Linked DNA regions of Homo sapiens: region 2 is linked to region 1. The links are contacts of gene promoters, found by promoter capture Hi-C in human tissues and cell types (Jung and others, 2019). All regions are on one chromosome and are shown on one strand. Each heading gives the region's core, a stretch centred on a gene start or on the middle of the fragment in contact. The rest is flanking DNA. Distances are from core to core; before and after follow the strand shown.

Region 1 (5,290 bases), core at 290-2,789:
CCCTTCATCAATGCTTTGCAACCTCTGTCTCTATTTCGGGGTTGGAATGGGGAGCCTTCGGACACAGACTTCAATTCTGTAAAGCCACCTAATAATCTTAAGGAAAAACAATGAACCCCCCCATCCCCATCGCCACTTAACAAGGACAAACTGTATGCACCATGAGCCTCCTTAGCGGGACCTGCTGGCCCACCAGACCCAGCCAGGCTTCATCACTGGCCACAGGCAGGGTGAGGAAGAGCCCGGAGGTCGTTGAAACAGGGGTGCCTTTGCCTGACCCTGAAAGACACTTCCCAGCAGCTCTCATTATCAACTGTAGTTTTAGGTCTATTACTGGGGAAAGCACTCAAGCTGTAGCTACCTTTCTTTTAAAGATTTTGCAGTTGTTGTTCTAACTCAGCATTATTACTTGCTCCTCTTTTATTATGTGGGGAGGAAATATTTGTGAAAAATGCACTCATCCCTCGAAATCTGAGATCATCTCCTTTGAAACAGACAAGAGGAAGATCAAAGAGGCAAAAACTCTGTCTTTAGAAGACAGTGTAGTGAATATAGTCCATGTAAGAATTTTAGGCCAAGTGCAGTGGCTCACGCCTGTAATCCCAGCATTTCGGGAGACCGAGGCAGGAGGATCGCTTGAGTCCAAGAGTTCGAGTTCAGCCTGGGCAACATAGGGAGACCTTGACTACAAAAAATTGAAAAATTAGCCAGGCAGGCATGGTGTCTTGTGCCTGTAGTCCCAGCTACTCGGGAGGCTGAGGCAGAAGGATTGCTTGAGGCTGGGCAGTCAAGGCTGTTTCCAAAAAAAAAAAAGAAAGAAAGGGAAGGGAAGGGAGGGGAAGGGAGGAAAGGACAGGAAGGAAAGGAAGGAAAGAGGGAAAGAAAGAAAAGAACTTATAGCCCCATAGACCTGGGTTCAAATCCTGGAATCCTAGCTCTACCAGTTATGTGTCCTGGATCAAGTTATTTAACTGAAACTCATTTATTCATCCATAAAATGGGTTTAATATATCCATCTTACCAGGATTTGTGGGGAGGTTACATGTTATAAGGACTGATAAGATAATCTCTGTTAAAAAAAATTCTTAGCAGATACAAACTCCCATTTTGAACTTTTCAGAAAGTTTTTCCTTGTCATGTAACAACCACAGCTAATATTTGCAGAAAAGAAATCTGACCAAGATGCCATGTTCAAATGACCAAACCTCATGTCGGCATTTTTTTACCTAGACTTTCCAACACCTTCTCTCTGTAGGCAGAAAATTCCCACAATTTTCTGAGCCTTCTCAAAGAGGAAGAAACAAAACCCTCTCAAAACAGCCGCTTCCCCAGAAATGAAGGCAACTCACCTTGCAGCTGGCTGCACTGCCTCCCCGGGGTAAGGACAGTCAAACCAGGAAGAGACCTGTGCCTTGAGAACTTCGGGACTGTCTAGAACTGCCCAGTCCCCTCATCAAAGGTGGCCGAGAGATTTTAAAGCAGGAATGAGGCTGAGTTCTCTGCGGCCGGAGCCTCAGTTTTCGACTCGCTACAAAGTTATGAACACACTGGCAGCCAAGAAGTATTTATACTCACCCCATGCCATCCAGAGAGTTGTTTTTGCATAAAGGTCTCTTTTTTTTTTTTTTTTTTTTGGTTTCCAAAGGGAGTGTCCCCAGCTTGTGTACAGTTAGCTAATTTATGACTGTGACTGCCAGGGCCTGTGGGTGACCTGATCTTGCTGTTACATCACTCTGTGTGGTGCCTCTTCACCCAACCCACCTCTTTCTGGTCCCAAGTCCAAGGTGGCAGTTCATCAGCAGGGTGGCTGCTAAGATAGAGGCACCACGGAGCCAGGTTTTATTTGGCCAAGCCACATGGCCTCACTTTCAGCATCTGGGAGATTTTTTCCTCAGCAGGGAGCTCTCTGGTTAATCCCTGTCCATCCTCTCACTTTTCCAGCTTGTGACAGGAGTCCAGGAAGCTGGGGGAATATTGACAGTATGGAACACACTGGAAAATGCCCAGGTTCCAGAAGGCCAGTGATATTAGATGATGCCATTATTCCAGACAGGCCTCTGAACTAGTCACTTGAGGTTTTTGGAAGGGAAAGGAAGGAAGGCTATTGGCACAGAGAGGCCTCTGAGATGTTGGTCTTACTAACACCTCATCCTTTAGCACTAGGTAAGCTTTGGTGGAATGGCAGGTAGGATTAAATTCCTTCCCTTATAATGGAAATGATCACTTCTTACATGAAAAAGTGGTAATTTCTTATAATTTCATTTCATTTATTTTATTTATTTATTTATTTTTGAGATGGAGTCTCATTCTGTCACCAAGACTGGAGCGGAGTGGCACGATCTCTGCTCATTGCAACTTCTGCCTCCCAGGCTCAAGCGATCCTCCCACCTCAGCCTCCTGAGTAGCTGGGACTACAGGCATGCACCACCACACCCAGCTAATATTTTTGTGTTTTTGGTAGAGACTGGGTTTCACCATGTTGTCCATGCTGGTCTCGAACTCTGAAGCTCAAGTGATCTGCCCACTTCAGCCTCTCAAAGTGCTAGGATTACAAGGGTTAGCCACCATGCCCGGCCTATAATTTCATTCCTTATAATGCCTGAAATACAGTATTCCCATACATATGCATTTTTCCATCATAAAAGTAAAATAACAACTACATTAGGGAGAAGTTGAGAAGCAAAGGGAAAAAAAGTCACCCTTGATCTCACCGTCCCAACACTTTGCTACCACTGTCCACTCATTTCCTTCTTGTCTTTCCCAAGTTAAATTCAGCATAATATATTAACTTTGTCAAAGATAAACTAAGAGCCACAAAAAAGACATGGATATCAGAGCTCAAGGATCTTTGTTGAGTGAATGTGTGGATGAATGAATGAAAAATAGGAGTAAACTGGAATGAGTTTTAACATATCAAAGCCATCTTCCCTTCAGGCTTCAGCTCAATGCTGCGGCTCAATGCTGCGGCTTAGAGCTCTGGCTTATGGAGCATCTGCCACGAAGAGCAATGCATTTTAGAAAGTGACAAGATGGCCGGGCGTGGTGGTTCATGCCGGTTCAGTTCAGGTAAACAGCACTCAGGGAAAGAGTCAGAATCCTGGCCTTAGGGAGTGCAAGGCCTAGAAAAATAAATGGATAATTATAGTACAGAGTGATATCTGTAGTGATGGAGGGATGGTATGGTGCTGATGTAGCTGGTTCTGCCTTGTTCAAGGAAAGTTTACAAGGGAGAGGACACCAGGGCAGGGTTTTGAGGGATGATTAGGAGTTTGCTACACTCTATTCCCTGTAGCTGCTTTCACATATTCTGGCTATACCTGCAGCAAACACATGTATTAACACATTTAATGCCCCCACCCAAGAGCCTCTGAGGGGGATACTACTATTTGCTATTCATGGAATCCTCAAGAATCCCATCTACTTGGCCTCAAAGCACTTCGTTGATTTTCCTTCAGAAAATGCAGTTATTCAGTTATGTGATCTGTCAAACATGTCACCTCAGGTGCCCCTCTAACACAGCGTCTGCTTGGTGTGGCATTCTTGACCTGTGGCAGGGTTTGAGTCCAAGCACCAGGCTTGAGGACACATTTGGAATTAGCCAGCTGGGAAGGAAATATAATTTCTCCTCAATCATCTTAAGTTATTTGTTGGGAAAGACACTGTAACAAAAGACAGATTAATAATAGAGAAAAAAAAGCAAGTTTGTTAATGTCTGTGATGCACACCACGCAGGAGAAGCCTCAGTGAAAGTAACTCAATGCTGCGGCTTAGAACTCTGGCTTATGGAGCATCTGCCATGAAGAGCAATGCATTTTAGAAAGTGACAAGATGGCTGGGCACGGTGGTTCATGCCTGGAATCCCAGCAATTTGGGAGGCTGAGGTGGGCAGATTGCTTGAGGCCAGGAGTTCGAGACCAGCCTGGGCAACATAGTGAGATCCAATCTCTACAGAAAAATTGAAAATAAATTAGCTGGGTATGGTGGCATGCCCAGCTACTGTAGTCCTAGCTACTCAGGAGGATCAGGTGGGAGGATCAATTGAGTCTGGGAGTTAGAGGCTGCAGAGAGCTATGGTCGCGCCACTGCACCCTAGCCTGTCTCAGAAAAAAAAGGAAAAAAAAGAGGGAAAGGAGGAAAGGAAAGGAAAGGAAAGGAAAGGAAAGGAAAGGAAAGGAAAGGAAAGGAAAGGAAAGGAAAAGAAAGGAAAGGAAAGAGAGAAAGAAAGAAAGAAGAGAAAGGTGACAAGACGAATGCAGTTGTAGGCTTCCAGGGGTGGCAAGCTGTGAGAAGGTAAACATGTGGAAGTGAGCTAAGGAGTAGGATAGCAAGGTTTGTTTGTATTTGTAGATGGCTCTGGTGCCATCTCTGAGCTGATAAAAGTTATCTTCTCATCTTGATGCTGGGAAAGCATCTTTCTCCAAGGAATGTTTATGGCTTGCTGCAGGCAGGACAGGGCAGTTCAGATAGCCCTCTCTCTAGCTGCTCTTTCTCAAATGCCTTCAGCTGGAGATAATCAGGATGCCATATCGGCATATCTGGGCGTGGCATGTTCTGGTTTCCTTTAGCCTGAAAGGTCCCAGGTTCGAGGCACAGCTTCACTGCTGACCTACCATGTGATCTTGGAAAAGCCACTTCTCTCTGGGCCTGACTTTTCTCGTGACAAAAGGTGATAAAAATAAAAGTAAATAAACGAGATACAAGAAAATGCTTTGAGCCATTGAGCAAAAAGTCAGCCAAGTAAGAATTTATTATCCTTGCTGGGAGTCAGAGAGTAACAATTTCCCTTTTGACAAAGAGCAAGTGGATGCCAGGACTTGCCTTCTGAAGTATCCTTCCTCAGACAGGTCCCCGTCCCACCACAAACACCTGCTTTTAAATTCCCGGTCCTCTCTCTCCCTTTGTAACATTAAATTCATGTATGTATTTTTAATTTTTAATTGGAATAAATTTCACATAACATAAAATTACCAATTAACTATTTTAAAGTGTAAAATGCAATGGTTTTTAGAATATTCACAATGTTGTATAACCATGACCACTATCCCAATCCTCTCTTAACCGGCAAATAGGAAGAGGAGGAGAGTAAAAATAGTGATAATGATTGTGATGATACACAGAGGTTAGGAGACTCACCAAGGTCACACAGCAAACAGCCTTCAAGCCGGGACAAACAGTGAGCTTCTGGTACCCTCCCCAGAGCGCCTGTCTGCAGGGTCCAGGGCTGGCCCCCTCCTGGAGGTTGGCAAGTCTCCTACGGCTTCCTGGGCCTGCACGGCTGCCTTCTTCTTGG
Region 2 (5,887 bases), core at 172-2,671, 51 kb after region 1:
CCTGAGCAACATGACGAAACCCTGTCTCTACCAAAAATATAAAAAATTAGCCAGGCGTGGGGGCACACACCTGTAGTCCCAGCTACTCGGGAGGCTGAGGTGAGAGGATCACTTGAGCCTGAGAGGCGAGGGTTGCAGTGAACCGAGGTCATGCTACTGCACTCAAAGCTGGGTGACAGAGTGAGACCCTGTCTCAGAAAAAAAAAAAGAAAAGAAAAAAAGAAAAAAAATAGAACACAGACTTTGTCATTTTTCTGTTGGAAATATGGAACTCTTTGTACCTCTGTGAGCCTCATTGGTGGAACTTAGAGACTCTCATAAGGCAGTCTCTCTGTTTATATGTCTTTTCCCTACCTGAATCTACAATATAAGTACTCAATACATCTTCTGCTCACTCATTGTGAGGAAACATAGGGTAATATATATAAAAACATATTAAATAATCCTGAAAAAAGAATCATGCTCAAAGTAAATGCGCATATCTGTTATCAAGGAAACTCTCTTAATAGAGCCCCCCAGGTATCTTTCAAGGACTAGAGCAAGTTAGCAAGTTAGCACTTGCAGGTAAACAGCTGTGGAAGGAGAGTGATGCTGGGGCCTCAGTCATGTGCACCTGCCATAGGCTCAGTGTCATGGCCGTAAAAGCACAGCTTGATGTGTGCCCAAGCGAGGTGTTTGGCAGGTTGGGGTTGGGAGGAACTGCTATGGGCAAAATCACAAATATTGTCTCAGACAGCTGTGTGCAGGTAAACTGGCTGTGGTGGGAACGGGGTACCCTGGTTGTTTTGTTTTGTTTTTTGAGACAGAGTCTTGCACTGTCGTTGAGGCTGGAGTGCAGTGGCGTGATCTCAGCTCACTACAACCTCTGCCTCTCGGGTTCAAGCGATTCTCCTGCCTTAGCCTCCTGAGTAGCTGAGATTACAGGCACGTGCCACCACACCCAACTAACTTTTGTATTTTTAGTAGAGACAGGATTTCACTATGTTGGTCAGGATGGTCTCGAACTCCTAACCTTGTGATCTGGGGTGCCCTGATTTGTAGCATTTATTGATTTCCATGGTGAATACTCTCACTATGGGAGATTTCAAGCTACCAATGGTTTAACAATCTGCTTGCAAAGTTCCTGAATATTGAACAATCTGCTCTAGGGGTGCCAGTGTGGGCTGGCCTCAGAATACCCCTGTGGCATCAACTATCAGTGGGCCCGATTTTGACTAGCAGGTGGCACAGCAAAAGCCGTTTAACAATGCTGAGTGTTCTTCAATCTGCCTGTGTCCTGTTTAGTATCTATTGTCTTAAATATCTGGAAAATGCTAATGAAAATAAGAGGTAAGAAAAAAATCACTGAGGAACTTTAAAAAAAAAATCAGTACCAAAGCTATACTTACAGATTCTGATTTAATTGGTGTTGGGTGGGACCTGGCATCAGCTCTTAAAGCCCCTCTCCCAGGTGATTCTAGTGTGTAGCCAGGGATAAATAATTGCAGATAATGTGGGTTAGCAAGGGGCAGGCCACCCCTAAACCTAGAGTCTATTGCCATAGTGCCCCATACGAGAAAGAATGTGTTATCCCCACCTTGGATATCTTTTCCAGCTTTATTGAGGTTTACTTGACAAATACAAGTTGTACATATTTAAGATGTACGGTGTGATGTTTTGATGTACGTATACATTGTGAAATGATTACCACTATGAAGCTAATTAACACATCCCTCACTTCACATAGTTACCCGTGTGTGTGTGTTTCCGGAGATATATTCTCTCAGCAAATTTCATTATTATATTGTAATTATTCCAAAGCTGTTTTATGTATGTTTGACCTCCCCAAATAAGGGAAGCTCCTCAGGGACAGGGTCAGAGCCTCCTGTTAGAACATAGCAGGGTTGTGTGGATGGCGTGTCCTCAGTAGATGCTACATGCTCTGGGCTTATCTTCAAACACCTCGCCACACTGGAAGGATCACAGCCTTCTGTAGACATTACATGACAATCCTCAGAAGGAAAAGGGAGGACTGGGGACACCCCCACCATCACCAGACTGGGGACACAGAGGCTTCCCCATTAACAATAATAACTCAAAATGCCCTGAGCTGTGTCCCACATGCTCGTACTTCTGTGAGTTCCCTGGAGGTATTTCATGTATGCCTGTGCTTGAGTCCTCTCCTGCTGAACCCTGGTTTCTCTAGGGACTTGGCACAGAGCACCCCATGGCCACCAGATACCACCATCTTCCATCATATCCTGACCCTGGGGCCCTTGAAATAGCAAAGCTGCAGGGCTTTCTGGTGCAAAGTGGAAGAGAGGGGATCCCTGAACAGTCCACGGAAGCTGGGTAGGTGTGTGAATTTGAGTGAGAGGTCATCAGAGTCGCTGCCCTCTTTCCCTGCCTCAGTCATTCTGAAGGGCCCCTTCTTGTCCATTCATCAACCGTGGCTCCTTCTTTGCTTAGAATGAGTTCTCTGAGGGGAGGTTCCACCATTAATACAAATCAGGTCTGGAAAGCCATCCCATCGGTTTTCCAGACATGCCTGAGCCTTGGGTTGGATTCAAGCTGAGATCACCCCTCAAGTCACAGCAGATACACCAGTGGCAGCAGTCGGCACCTACAGGACAAGCAAGGTGCATCCAGAATCTAAAGATAAGGCTCCCCTGTCAGAGGAAAACCCATACAAGTGAACACTTCATAGATGAAACTGGCCATCTGTAGAAGTGATCTGCCTGATGAGGCAGAAAGGAAAGGGGAGAAAACTAACATTTTCTGAGCACAATTTTCTAGATTTTTTATATATTTTGGCACTGAGTGCTCACAATTCCCTTAGGTAGGTAAAATTATTCCCATTTTATAGATCAAGAAACAGAAATTCAAAGAGATCATGTGGCTGACTTTAATCTCAGGTATATTTGGTGCCACTGATCTATTTTCTGCCCCTCTAGGTTTGCCTTTTCTGGAATGTCAAATAAATGGAATCACACAGTATGTAGCCTATTACTTCTGTAGGTATTTTTGCTTCTTTCACTTAGCGGAAGGCATTTGAAAACAACCCATGTTTTTGTGTGTATCCATGGTCGATTTCTTTCTACCGCTAGGTAGTATTTCATTGTTTGGGTGTGCCACAGTTTGTTTATACATTCCTCAACTAACAGAGATTTGGGTAGCTTCCAGTTTGGGCAATTACAAGTAACTATAAACTATAACTATAGACTATAAATAACTATAAACATTCATGTACAGGTTTTGCATGACCATAGCTTTCATTTCTCCAGGAGTGAAATTGCTGGGCCATATGGTAGATGTATGCTAACTTTACAAGAAACTACCAAGTGGTTTGTAAAGTGTTTGTAGTCTTTTTGCAATCCCACCAGAGATGTATAAGAGTGCTGGCTACTTTGCACCCTAGTTATCATTTGGTATTGTCAATATTTGTTATTTTAGGCATTCTAAGAGATGTATAGTGATATATCATAGTGGTTTTAACTTGCATTTTACTAATTACCAATGATGCTGAGCATCTTTTCATGTGCCTCTTGGTCATCCATATATCTTCTGTGGTGAAACATCTGTTCATGTCTTTTGCCCTTTTTTCCCTCAAAATTTTTTACTGTGTTAAAACACACATACCAAAAGATTTATCATCTTAATGTTTTTAAGTTTACAGTTTAGTGGTTCTAAATATATTCATGATATTGTGAAACTATCCCCACTATCCATCTTCATAACTCTTTCCCTCTTGTGAAACTAAAGCTCTGCACCCGTTGAACAATAACTCCCCATTTCCCCATCCCCCTCGCCCCTGGCAGCCACCCTTCTACTGTCTCTGTGATTTTGACTACTCTAAGTATACCTCATATAAGTGGAATCGTACAGTATTTGTCTTTTGTGAGTGCTTTTGCCCTTTTTAAATGTGCTTGCTTTCTGATTGTTGGATTTTGAGAGCACTTTGTATATTCTAAGACACATGTCATTTATCAGTTATGTAACTTGCAATTATTTATGTCTTTCCATTCTCAGAACAGTGTTTTGTTTTATTTTTGTTTTTCTTGAGAGAGAGTCCTGCTCTGTTGCCCAGGCTGGAGTGCAGTGGCACAATCTCGGCTCACTGCAACCTCCGCCTCCCGGGTTGAAGTGATTCTCCTGCCTCAGCCTCTGGAGTAGGTGGGATTACAGGCGTGCTTCATTCCAGCCACGTGGCCCTTCTTGCTTCCTCTAATATGTCTATTACAGGTCTGCCTCAGGACCTTTGCACTTGCTATTGCCTCCATCTGAAATGCTCCTCCTCCAAATATCCTCATGACTCACTCCTCCATTCATTCTCTGTTAAATGTCACCTTACTTAAGAGACCCTCCCTGAAGACTCTATTTAAATGGCTCCCCAGCTCCATCTTGCTCTGCTGCTCCACCTTGATTTATTTATTCTCATGGCGTATATCACAATCTGACATAACACGTATTTGCTCATTTTTATTTATTTATTAACTGTATATTCCTTCCCCCAACAACTATCAGAATGTCAAGCTGGAGCGAGCAGGAATTTTGTCTGTTTTATGCACTGATGTATCTCCAGTGCCTAGAACAGTGCCTGCACATACTGAACTCTTAATCAAGAGTCCTCGATCTTACTGAACAAACTCAAACAATTATTACAGCGTGCCTACTAGGGACCGGGCACAGTGCTGGGCTTCGGAGATACAACGGAGAGAAAAACAGACATGGTCCCTGCCTTCATGGATCTCACAGTACAGCAAGAAAGACCAATAGTAAGTCATCAGAGAAATAAAATGGGTAATAGTTCCTGGGCCTACAAGAAGTACAGTCGGCCCTAAGTATCTGTAGGTTCCCCATCTGTGCATACAGCCAACTGTGGATAGAAAAATATTTTTTAAAATAAATAAATAACAATAAAAATAACAGTACAACAATAAAAATGTAAATAATAGAATATAACAACTATTTATATGGCATTGACATCATATGAAGTATTACAGGTAATCTACAGGTGATTTAAAGTACACAGAAGGATTGTGTACATTCTATGCAAATACTGTGCCATTTCATATAAGGGACTTGAGCATCCTAGGATTCTGGTATCCATGGGAGGTCCTGGAACCGGTCCTCTACGGATACCGAGGGACAACTGTACACAGAGCTGGGGAGCTTGTAACTTAGTCATAAGGGACCTAGTCATGGAAGTGAGAGAAGGGCTCCCAGAGGAAATGGTGATTGAACTGAGAGCTGAAGAGTGAACAGTGGCTAACCACGTGAGGAACAGGGAGAAAGGGACATCTAGCCATGTGGCATTTCATGTACAAAGACCCCATGCGTGGAAGGAGCTTAGCATGTTTGAAGAACTAAAACATGGTGAGATTGCCTAAGGGTGGTGAGTTGGGCAAGAGGGAGGCTGCAGTGGGGCTGGGGTGAAGGCAGGGCACTCTGGGGCTGGGGCAGGCAAGGTGGCGATGGCCAAGTAGGGACTGGCCTTTACCTTATGAGAAAAGGGAAGCCACTCAAGGGTGAGCTCACCTTTTTAACCACCCAGTGTATGTGGAACATAATAAACACTCAATAAAACACTAGGCTAGGCATGGTGACTCACACCTGTAATCCACGCACTTTTGGAGGCCCAGGTAGGAGGATTACTTAAGCCCAGGAGTTCAAGACCAGCCTGGGCAACATAGTGATACCTCATCTGTAGAAAACAAACAAACAAAAAAGCCTGGCATGGCGGTGCACACCTGTGGTCTCAGCTACTTGGGAAGCTGAGGTGGGAGGATCACTTGAGCTCAGGAGGTCAAGACTGCAGTGAGCCATGATTGTGCCACTGCACTCCAGCCTGAGCAACAGAGTGAGACCCTGTCTCAAAACCAACTAACTAAATAACTAACTAACTAAA

The links. The method cuts DNA at HindIII sites, captures the fragments that hold promoters and counts their contacts. A contact is called where the count stands out against the background at its distance.
Region 2: a contact is called between a fragment that was not itself captured here and the fragment with the promoter of NOS2 in region 1, in 1 of the 25 tissues and cell types used here (adrenal gland).

The regions. Positions count from the first base shown.
Region 1 is chr17:27,798,990-27,804,279 of GRCh38, forward strand. NOS2 (nitric oxide synthase 2) reads right to left here and starts at 1,540. Exons shown (of 27, transcript NM_000625.4): 1 at 1,350-1,540. RefSeq lists promoters at 1,373-5,290, 1,453-2,570, 1,453-1,745, 1,504-5,290, an enhancer at 1,714-1,742 and cis regulatory regions at 2,055-2,077, 4,104-4,239, 4,898-5,037. The HindIII fragment of the contact is 5,928 bases long and covers 1-4,486 here.
Region 2 is chr17:27,850,150-27,856,036 of GRCh38, forward strand. LOC124903961 (a long non-coding RNA gene) reads right to left here. Exons shown (of 2, transcript XR_007065681.1): 2 at 4,448-4,855. Among named protein-coding and RNA genes, the nearest start is that of LYRM9, 40 kb to the right of the region's middle. The HindIII fragment of the contact is 4,752 bases long and covers 1-3,797 here.